Linked DNA regions of Homo sapiens: regions 1 and 2 are each linked to region 3. Evidence: promoter capture Hi-C in 16 types of primary human blood cells and fetal thymus (Javierre and others, 2016). All regions are on one chromosome and are shown on one strand. Each heading gives the region's core, a stretch centred on a gene start or on the middle of the fragment in contact. The rest is flanking DNA. Distances are from core to core; before and after follow the strand shown.

What was found. Contacts are between HindIII fragments. The CHiCAGO score rates a contact against its expected background, and 5 or more counts as called.
Region 1: a fragment that was not itself captured here is called in contact with the fragment with the promoter of LINC01386 in region 3 in 1 of 17 cell types (endothelial precursors); the score reaches 5.7 in endothelial precursors.
Region 2: a fragment that was not itself captured here is called in contact with the fragment with the promoter of LINC01386 in region 3 in 1 of 17 cell types (endothelial precursors); the score reaches 5.8 in endothelial precursors.

The regions. Positions count from the first base shown.
Region 1 is chr5:73,225,710-73,229,283 of GRCh38, forward strand. All of the region lies in intron 1 of LOC124901002 (a long non-coding RNA gene), which reads left to right. Among named protein-coding and RNA genes, the nearest start is that of TMEM174, 54 kb to the left of the region's middle. The HindIII fragment of the contact is 2,452 bases long and covers 376-2,827 here.
Region 2 is chr5:73,249,780-73,253,636 of GRCh38, forward strand. The region is part of intron 1 of LOC124901002 (a long non-coding RNA gene); the gene reads left to right. The region is part of intron 1 of LOC105379031 (a long non-coding RNA gene); the gene reads right to left. Among named protein-coding and RNA genes, the nearest start is that of TMEM174, 79 kb to the left of the region's middle. The HindIII fragment of the contact is 2,238 bases long and covers 522-2,759 here.
Region 3 is chr5:73,471,011-73,474,466 of GRCh38, forward strand. It overlaps LINC01386 (long intergenic non-protein coding RNA 1386), which reads right to left and starts at 1,956. Exons shown (of 5, transcript NR_126410.1): 1 at 1,863-1,956; 2 at 875-937. The HindIII fragment of the contact is 6,957 bases long and covers 1,817-3,456 here.

The DNA of each region.
Region 1 (3,574 bases), core at 352-2,851, 250 kb before region 3:
GCTTAAAACACACATTTAATATTTTACCATTGTGTTGGGTCAGCAATGCACGATGGCTTTGAGATAGAAAGAGAGATAGAGGTGGCGCAAGCTAATGAGTGAGAGAGGGAGCACCCAAGATAGAAGCCGCAGTCTTTTTGTAATCTCAGCTTGGAAGCTGCAGCCCATCACTTCTGTCATAGTCATTTGTTAGTATTGAAATACTAAGCCTAGCCTAGAGCCTAGGGGAGGGAATTACATATGGGCATGACTACTGGGAGGCTGAGCTCAGCAGGGGCCATCTTAGAGGCTACCTACCACAAATATGTGTGTACATACATTAATGTCTATTTATATACATTTAACAAAATTTTAGACAGAGGTGATACATGTGCAAGCTTGTTACATGGGTATATTGCATAATGCTGAAGTGTTTTGGCTTCTAGTGAACCATCACCAAAATAGTAAACTACCCAATAGGTAGTTCTTCAGCCTTCATCCCCCCACACCTTTAGAGTCCCCAGTGTCTATTACTTCCATTTTTAGATCCATGCATACTCATTGCTTAACTTCCACTTATGAATGAGAACATGTGGTATTTGATTTTCTGATTCTGAGTTGTTTCACTTAGGATAATTGTCTCCAACTCCCTCCATGTTGCTGTGAAGAACATGATTTCATTGTTTTTTATGGCTGCATGGTATTCTGTGGTGTTTAAGTACCACATTTTCTTTATCCGGTCAACTGTTGGTAGACACTTAGGTTGATTCCATGACTTTGCTCTCGTGAATAATGCTGCAATAACATACAAGTGCAGGTGTCACTTTCGTATAACAATTTCTTTTCCTTTGGGTAGATACACAGTAATAAGATTGCTGGGTTGAATGGTAGCTCTACTTTTAGTTCTTTGAGAAGTCTCCACACTATTTTCCATAGAGGTTTTATTGATTTACATGCCCACCAACAGTGTATAAGTGTTCACTTTTCTCTGCAGCCTTGCCAGCCAACATCTGTTAGTTTTTGATTTTTTAATAATAGTCATTCTGACTGATATGAGGTGGTATTTCACTGTGGTTTTAATTTGTATTTCTCTGATGATTAATGATGTTGAGTATTTTTTCATATGTTTGCTGGCTGCTTGTATGTCTTCTTTTGAAAAGTGTCTTTTCATGTCCTTTGCTTATTTTGTAATAGGGTTATTTTTTTCTTGTTGATTCATTTTAGTTCCTTATAGATTCTAGATATTCATCCTTTGTTAGATGCATAATTTGGAAATACATTCTCCCATTCTATAGGTTGTCTGTTGATTGATTCTTTTGCTGTGCAGAAGCTGTTTAGTTTAATTTAGTCCCATTTGTCTATTTTTGTTTCTGTTGCATTTGCTTTTGAGGTCTTACCAATAAAATATTTGCCTAAGCCAATGTCCAGAAGAGTTTTTCCAGGTTTTTAATAGGATTTTTATAGTTTGATGTCTTACATTTAAGTCTCTAATTTATCTTCAGTTAATTTTTGTATATGGTGAGAGATAGGGGTCCAGTTTCATTCTTCAGCATACTCCCAGCCATTATTTATTGAATAGTGTGTCCTTTCCCCCATTGTTTATTTTTTGTTGGCTTCCACAAACATATTTTATCTAACCCAATATACCCAAAGTATCATTCAATATATAACTAATATAAAATTATTAATGAGACTTTTGCATTCCGATTTTATAATCTCCTTGCTGTGGACTGAATGCTTGCACTGCCCCCAAAATTACTATGTTGAAGCCCTAATCCCCAATGTCATGATATTAGAAAGTGAAACCTTTGGATGGTAACTAGGTTTAGATGAAGTCAGAAGGATGGAGTTCCCATAATAGGATTAATGCCCTTACAAGAAAAGGAAGAGACATGATATATCTCTCCCTCCTTGAGCCCACCCCCACACCACCCCTCTTGCAAGCACCAGGGAAAGGCCATGTGGGGATGTAAACAGGAAGAGGGTCCTCAACAAGAACCCAACCATTCTGGCACCCTAATCTTGAACTTTCAGCTTCCAGAACTGTGAGAAATCAATGTTGCTGAAGCAACCCAGTCTGTGGTAATTTGTTATAGCAGCCTAGACTTACTAAGACAACCTACAAAGTCCAGAATGTATTTTACACTTACGGCCTGCATCAATTTGGACTAGATACATTTCAAGCATCAATTGCCACCTGTGGCTAGAGGCCACTGTAGTACAGAACACATCTAGATGGTCTGAAGCCATCTGAAGATCCAAAGACCCTAACTAAGTGGTCTTCTTCACCAGCAACCTAAATGATTGATGTGATTTATCAGACATATCAAGTGCTTACCATGTACCAGACATAGTGCTGAATGTAAGGAACCTCAAGCTAATAAATAATAGTGCCTGCCCTAAAGGAACTCAGACAAGTAAGAGGTTAACTTCGGATTCTAGACCAGCCATGCAGGGCCTACCTCAGAGAGCTCTACACTGTGATGGGTTCTTGCGTAAGGCAAAGCTCAGTCCCTCCATGGTCCGTGGGAAGGTGGGTGACCCAAGTCTGCCTGGCCCAGCCAGAGTCTCTGACAATGACCATACACATCATTTACTCCCAGGCCTAACCTGAGGCCTGGGCCTCGGGCCCTGAACTGGAGCCCATATGTTGGCCTGAAATCTGATTTACCTTGGACGTGGAACAAGTTAAATATTTGTCTAACTCAGTACGTTGTATTTTCCGCTATTCTTCACAAGCATGTCCTGTAAAAGAAGGGAGATGTGGGGGCTACCTTAATATTTCAGGCTCCTTGGGTGCTTTAGAGGGGTTTCTGCAGAAGTATCGGTACATGCCACAGTTGCACAAAGCTTCAAACATATGTGACTAAATTTATGTGGAAAAAAATGTCCTTAATTATCTTACCAGCTATGAATGAATTTAGCACCAAGGAGATATGTTTTTAGTCCATTCTCTGTCCTAACTCTGATCATGCAAATGCCTTTGCTTTTTGTCTCACAACGTATGTCCTGAATTGTATTTGTGGTAAGTTATAAGCATCTTGAGAGTATAACTCTATGTATCGAGTACATCTAGGGTGTAGCAGAGGAGCCCTTCCACCTCTCCCAAAATGTACTTAAACACTATTAATAGTGATACACCTGGCAGTCCAGTTAAATAATTCTAAGTTTCATTTGGGGGAAATATAGTATACTTTTCATTAACAGTAGAGGAAAACAGCTTTCGGAGTGGTCTCTCTACCAGTGTAAATAGCAGTCATTTATTTTAAAGTTAGAGGAAAATCTATGCCTGTCCTAATGGAAAGAAGTTAGCTTCATTCATGTGGTGTCTGGAAAAATGATCTTGAATGGCTTCTTGATTAATTTTTGTCTTCATAAAAATATTATTTAGAAAAAATAAACAACTGTGAAGACAGTTGCAAGTAAAGGACTACAAATAAAACAATATTTCTTTCTGACATGTAAAACCCATCTCCAAATTGCTATTTCATCACATAGACATGCATTGTCTCATTAATGTCCCAGTAGCTGCATCTTTAAAATGCCTTTGTTTCACAATGTGGACACAATAAAAAATATGAGGACATAGATCTCA
Region 2 (3,857 bases), core at 391-2,890, 220 kb before region 3:
TCTCTGCTTAATTTACTTCCTTCTTCCAGGAGCATTGGGTTACTAGTAGGATCTGTTTCAAGATGGTAGAATGGCTATTGATGGTGAGATTCCAGGACTTGATTAGTGATGAGAGTGCCATTTGCTGTTCAGGACATTCCATCACCGTTCATGCTCATGGAAGTGCATGAGAACCGGGTTTCACTTTGGGTCAGGCAAACTATATTAACATTGTAACTTCTAGTCTTCCAGACAAACTATCCACCTCAGTAATGTTTTATTTTTCTTGTGGGTGTATCGTTAAGGGAGCAGAAATTATGATATCCCTAAACTTTGTATCTTAATTGAACTCTGTGGTATCTTTATGATTTAATTTAATAGGTGACTTCAGCCATTCTTTTCCAAGGCAATTTTTAAGAAGCAGACTTATAGAAACTCTGGACTACAATTCATCATTAGAGTTTTGGTTAACTCTACAAAACTGTATGATCTACATGCATACTGAACAAACGCATATAACATGCAATATATTTCACTTAAAAAGCTTAAACATAAGAATCACTTAGAATTCATGTCATATTTAAGGCACATGAAATGCTACTTGATCTGTTCCATTTGAGTCATTCAGGGAGTTTAAAGCTATTTTAGGATAAATAATCTTAAAGAAGCTCTAGAAGGTTTGAATGGGATTTGCTTAAATAACAGAGAATATTATATTGCTTTAGTAAACTTTAGTTACTATTTTTAACTAAGACTTCATTGGTCTTATTAAGGTCTGGGTAATATTAGAAACTGTTGTTAAATGATGGTAATGCTATTTTGACTCTCTCCCTCTCACATCATTGAGGCTCTTTAAACTGTACAACTAGCGGTGGGGTAGTGCAAAAGTTACATTCAAGGGAATTTTGTTTTATTTGGTCTACTTCCCTTAACTTCCCTGTCCCCAGTCCCAGCTGCCTCTTTTACTCAGAGATCTGGCCTGAGATGATTGGACCAAGAACAAACACCTGCCCCAGGGGGGAGCCCATTTATAGACCAGCTGAGCTAATCTTCCTCCCCAGAGCATTTATGTTTGGAGAAAGAGAGACTGAGTCAGCCGGCTGATGGATGGTGATGGACCAAATAAAGGTCATACAGAGTCAGGGTTGGAGTCAGTCCATAAGCAAGTTGAAGTCATGAGGGGTAGACCACGGGAAGCAGGAGAAACTGCTCTGTGCAGAGAAATGGGAGAACAGAGAAAGAGCCCCAGTTCAGGTCCCTGTAGCCAGATGTCACTGGCTTTCTGGCCCTGGATGCCTGTGAGATTGCTTGTTATCCATTGTATTCAGCTCTCTAGGTGGGTTTCTCTCACTTACAACCCAAGTGATTCCAGACTAAGACAACTCCATACACCAAATGGCAAATACAGGCTACCAAATAGTTCCCCACCTCTTCGGTATCACTACCAAGTCACCCAGACTTCAGAGGTCTATGGGGCAACATAGGGATACATGGAGGAATAGGCAGGATGGAGGAAATGAGTATACAGCACACTTTTCCTTATGTTTTATGGTTTATAAATGCCCAACTCGCAATTTGTCATTTTCTGTTAGCATTTTCCATGTGTCTCTTTCACCTGCAATCTTGTGGGCCAATCAGTACGTTCTGCCCAGATCAGGGTTCAACGTCCTCAACATGCCACTGCCAAGTCATGGGCCCAAGTCTTGAATGTCACACTCCAGCAGGGCAGTCTCCTCCTCTGCTTTAGACAAGTGATGCCTGAAATAGAGTTTTATTTATTCGATACATATTTACTGGCTGCCTGCTATGGCTAGATACTGTGCAAGGTGCCAGGGATACGGCAATGAGCTAATGGCATATCTCTTACTTGCATGGACTTATATTGGTGGGAAGGGAGTACACTCACAAATGGACACTATGAAAAGTATAAGCAGGACAGTTTGTGATGGTAGGGGTCAATGAGAATCCTACTTAGATGGGTTGGTCAAGAAAGGCCTCTCGAGGATGAGAAAGAGCCAATCATGAACAAATTTAAAAATAGAAGAAATGACATGCACAAAGACCCTTTCACAGGAAGGAGCTTGGAGACACCAAGAGATTGAGAGAAGTGAGAGAAGGCAGAGTGGTTGGCACATGTGGTCTCTCCGATACACACCCCTTTGGTGCCTGCGGTCCCATACAATTTTCCTCTTTGCCTGAGGTATTAGTCTTATCTGGATATTTGTCCCCATGTCTGTTGGTTGGACCTGCATGATCTCTCTCCTGTTCCACCTCTCCTCTCCTGTCCTGCGGCTGCTGGTCTGCTCAGGCTTCCTACTCACTCACCTGGTCTATTGCAACTGCCTTCTAACTATGTGGGCAGTGACTTTGTCCTGTTCGCTCTTGCAGCTCAGCATCAACTGTCTGTCATTAGTAGGTGCCTAAAAAGTATTTGCTGAATGAATGAATGAATGAAATGTCTGGTCCAGTCTTCACCCCTGTGTCCCGCATCTCCATTCTGCATCCCTGTCTTGCATGCTACTGTCAGGATTATTGCTCTAAGTTAGAGATCCAATTGTCTCACTTACCAACCTTCTGGTGGTTGGCCCCCATTGTCACATGACTAAAACCCTCCATATTGCCTTCATAGGTCTTCAGAATTTGATCCCAATCTGCCTTTAAGGCTCATTTCGCAAACACTAAACACAGCCACTCTGAAATACTGTCTGTTGGTGACACCATGAACTCCCTCTGCTTGCAGTTTGTTCCCCCTACAGGGTTTGTCCACCTGCCATTCTTCAAGCTTCAGCTCAAAAGTCACCTGCCTTTCATGTCCCTAGTTCCACTTTTTCCCACTGGAGACAACTCACCATCTCTACTAAGCTCAGAACAGTTTGTTCCTATTGCTCCTACAGCCTGGATTAGACATGAGTTTGCATTGGTCTTTCTCTCCCGAGAGATGGCAAACTCTCTCAGGGCCCAGGAGCTGCATCTTACTCATCTTCGTGACCCCAGTTCTTAACACAGAGGCATGTGTGAAATTAATAATGACAGCAAAAAATCTACCGAGTGCTCGCAACATGCCAGCCTATTTTACACAATTAGCTCTCTAATCCTCAAAATAATCTTAGGAGGCAGGTCATATTGTGGTTCCTATTTTAGAACTGAGGAAACTGAGGCTTAGAAAAGTTAGAGAAATTGCCTGGAGTTGCACAGGTAGCAAGCAATAGCAGAGCCGGATTTAAACACAGATAGTCTGACTGCAAAGCCCACAAGGGGAACATGACAAAGTGCTGTATGCCACAGTGGCCCCTGACTGCTTCTTAGAATCACCTGAGGAACTCTGAAAACTCATCCATGTCCCAGCTCCATCCCACAACAACAACAACTGAACTACTGGACTATGAAAGCACTAAACTGGGGCATAGACAAGTTTGAACCCTGACCATAAGTATGACCTGGAGCATTTGTTAAAGGTGTAGATCACCACACCTCTCTTCCAGATAATGCTGTTTCAGCGGATTATGGTTGAAGCTTGGCAACTTGTGGTTGACAAGGTACCCCAGGTAATTCATATCTTAAGGGAAGTTAGGGAAATAAAGCTAGAGAGTAGGTTGCAAAGTCATTTAAGTAGGTCTCTAAACATTCATCTGTCTATGATGGTAGAAAGACCCTGTGGAGGATGTTTGACTGTTTCATCATGGGGCTGAGCTGAAGAAGATGAGTAACACAGTAAATTGGCATGGCTCTTTGGGAACACTAAGCTGAAATAGCTAATAGCACTGCACAAGTATACATCTTCAAAACCGTCCACTGATAGTGCTGCAACCAAAAAACAGTATTTTGATGGTACTTCTTTGCCTTGAGCATTCTATATACTTTAGCCAAAAACTGAAAGA
Region 3 (3,456 bases), core at 706-3,205:
AAGCTGCCTCTCAGTCACCCAGCCCACCCACTTCCTTTACCATTGCCACTCTTAGTAGCTATTTTTCTTTTATTTTCTTTCCTTTTCTTTTGTTTTCCTTTCTCTTCTTTTTTCTTTTCTCTTCTTTTTGAAAGAGGATCTCACTCTGTCACCCAGGCTGGAGTGTAGTGACATGATCATGGCTCACTGCAGCCTCAACCTCCTTGGGCTCAGGTGATCCTCCCGCCTCAGCCTCCTGAGTTGCTGGGATTACATGTACATGCTACCATGCTCGGCTAATTTTTGTATTTTTTGGTAGAGGTGGGGTGTCGCCATATTGCCCAGGCTGGCCTCCAACTCCTAGGCTCAAGGATCTGCCCATCTCAGCCTATCAAAGTGTTAGTATTACAGGCTTGAGCCACAGCAGCTGGCCCTTAGTAACTTCTGAACAGAATTTCTCTCCTCTTTGGGCCAGTGAAGAAGAGAATTCAGACTCAGCATTCCGCCTCCCCAGACATACCTTTTAAAAACACACACACATCCTTAAGGTTTTTTTTTTAGCTTCTAAGGGTCTGTATTGCCAGTAACAACAGAGAAGGGGGCAGGGACTGAAAAGGCAAAAAGGCTCCACCCAGCACTCCCCTCTTTTGCTATTTCATTTAGATATTACAGAGAAGGAAGGAAGACATTTTCCCCACCCCTGAGTTTTCTTTGGGACTATCTGGGACAGAAGATCTCTCTGCAGCTCTTGTAGACCTGAGCATTTCATTTCTAGAGCTGAGATGTCAGGAGAGGAGTCTGGGATAAATGTGAGGAAATGGGATGAATGTTGCCAAGACTAATATTAGGGGTGGGTGGGGACTGAGAACAGCTGTAAGGCAATGTTCTTCCCTACCTTAGCCTCCAGAGCTCATGCTGGACCAGCTGGAGGATGTGAAAATCCAGAGGAGGTGAGGATCTGGGCCAAAGAAAGGGCAAGAAAGAAGGGAGATCTCAAGTCAAGCAATTGGAAGGAAAGGGAGGTTCCCATAGTGGACTCTGGGGCAGGAGAGATGGAAGGGTTGGGCATTTGGGCTCTCACACGTGTGTGGGGGTGGGGAGTATGGGGGTGCAGTTAAGGGACCTAGGTAACTGAGCAAAATTGGGCCTGTAAGGCCAATTGCAAAGCTCGCTTCTGCATGTAATGTGTGTACCATCTGTCTCTCCATGCCACTAGGAGCACTAATAAATGTTACATGTAGAAACTTTTGCACTAGCTTGTACATTAAAATTCCATATGCCAATTGACTGGACTACATGAGCGCATCTGTCAAAAACAGGTCTCTTAGGCCCAATTTAGGACATTCCAAAGCAGCTTTATAACTGCTTCAGCCTCCAAATGGTATGAATTAACTCTCATAAGCCAAGTCAATTCTCACTGAGTAAAGGATTCGGCCAAATGTCCAAAAAATTCAAGTCAAAAACACTCTCTTCCCTTTATTATAGAGAATATCAGTAGTAAGATCTTTTTTCCCCCAAAATTGTGCTGCTCATTGACTCCGTGTTTGATGTCATACTGTTAACATAAGTTAATATGGTCAAAATGATAAAATGCTTTATTGTATTATGGGCATGAAAAAGACCATATTTTGCATTTTTACAAAATTCTGTTTTTCCAGTTATATTTACAATTTACAGTGTATGCTGATATATATTAAGTGGTTAAATCTCAGGTGCCAAGTGTATTTTATTTTGAAAAAGTAAATATGTATAACTCCCAAGACAACCTGTTTAGACCCATTCTCTCCCGGCAATGGAAGATGCATAAAGAAGAATATAATCCTCCCTTTTAAGGTAAAGCTTAGATTTACACTTCACATGCCCAAACTCAGCACATATGTTACCTCTAGGAACTGGAAATTTTGCTTCTTTTCCTCATACTGATTTTTTTGTTTCTGTTCTTATTAACTTTTATGAAAATATCTTTAGAAAAGCAAGTATAAATACATGAATGAATAAATATATTGGATGATAGAATCAGAATCTTTAAATATCTCAACATGACAGAATAATGGGGAGATTCTAATAATGAAATGTAACAAGTATGAATGCCAGTCACACCTATGTTCCAGGAACAATTCATCATAACAGCAGGATATGTAAGGAAAGGCTTAGGGATTTCAGTTCACTATGCATAGACCTTTTTTTTTTTCTTTTTGAGACAGGGTCTTGCTCTATTACCCAGGCTGGAGTGCAGTGGTGCAATCATGGCTCACTCCCAGCCTTGATCTCTCAAGCTCAAGCACTCTTCCCACCTCAGCCTCCCTAGTAGCTGGGACTACAGCCATGCACCACCAAATCTGGATAATTTTTAAATTTTTTGTAGAGAAGGGGTCTCACTGTGTTGCCCAGGTTGATCATGAACTCCTGGCTTCAAGTGATCCTCTGGCCTCAGCCTCCCAAAGTGCTAGGATTACAGGTGAGAGCCACCACACCTGGCCCACTACTAACAGACTTTAGAGAGCCATTCAGGCTACTCCTCACCCCATGCAATCTTAGACTGTGTTACTAGATAAATGCTGTCTAAAAAAGGGGAAGAGATAACCTTTTTCTCCACTTTGTGTCAGAATACTATATTCAAATCTGGACACCTCATTTCAACAACAGATTGCAGGGATCCAAACAAAGAAACCAGCTTGGTGATCAAAAGAGTGCCTGCCCCTCAAGGACTCCCAACTCAGTGGGGTTGGTATTGACATAGCAGATACACAAAATGTATTCTAGATTGGTACCAAAACTATGGTGAGTAGATGGCTGTGACTGGGGGACTTCTCAATTGATTGCTCAGTCCATTAGAGGTGGCCTTTTTGTGCCTATTGGCTGTTATCGGCTGCCTTGAGTATATTGTCTATATTTGATCCTCAGTATTTTTGTGTGTGACTTGAGCTTTGAGAATTAAATTAAAATGATATATATTTTACTATTTAATCCTACAAAAGTTATTCAACTATCAATAAATATGTCAAGTGCTGAAAAGAAAAAATATCAACAATATCGGAATAAATAATGACTGTCTAGTTATTTTCTCAGCTGGGCCTAGTGGCTCATGCCTGTAATCTCAACACTTTGGGAGGCCAAAGCACAAGGATTGCTTGAGGCCAGGAATTCAAGACCAGCATACGCAACATAGCGAGACCCCCAACTCTACAAAAAATAGAAAAATTGGCCAGGTGTGGTGGTTCAAGCCTGTATTCCTAGCTGCTTGGGAGGCTGAGGCAAGAAGATCACTTGAGCCCAGGAGTTTGAGGCTGTAGTGAGCTATGATTATACCACTACACTCGAGCTACTCTGCCTCTTAAAAAAAAAAAAGTTATTTTTTCATATGAAGCAAAAGTTAAACATTCATGTTTAGAAAATCAGTTATTTTCAACTGTTGCTTTTGCTAGAAAAGTACCAGTTTTGAATTTTTTTTTTTTTTTTTTTTTTTAGATGGAGTCT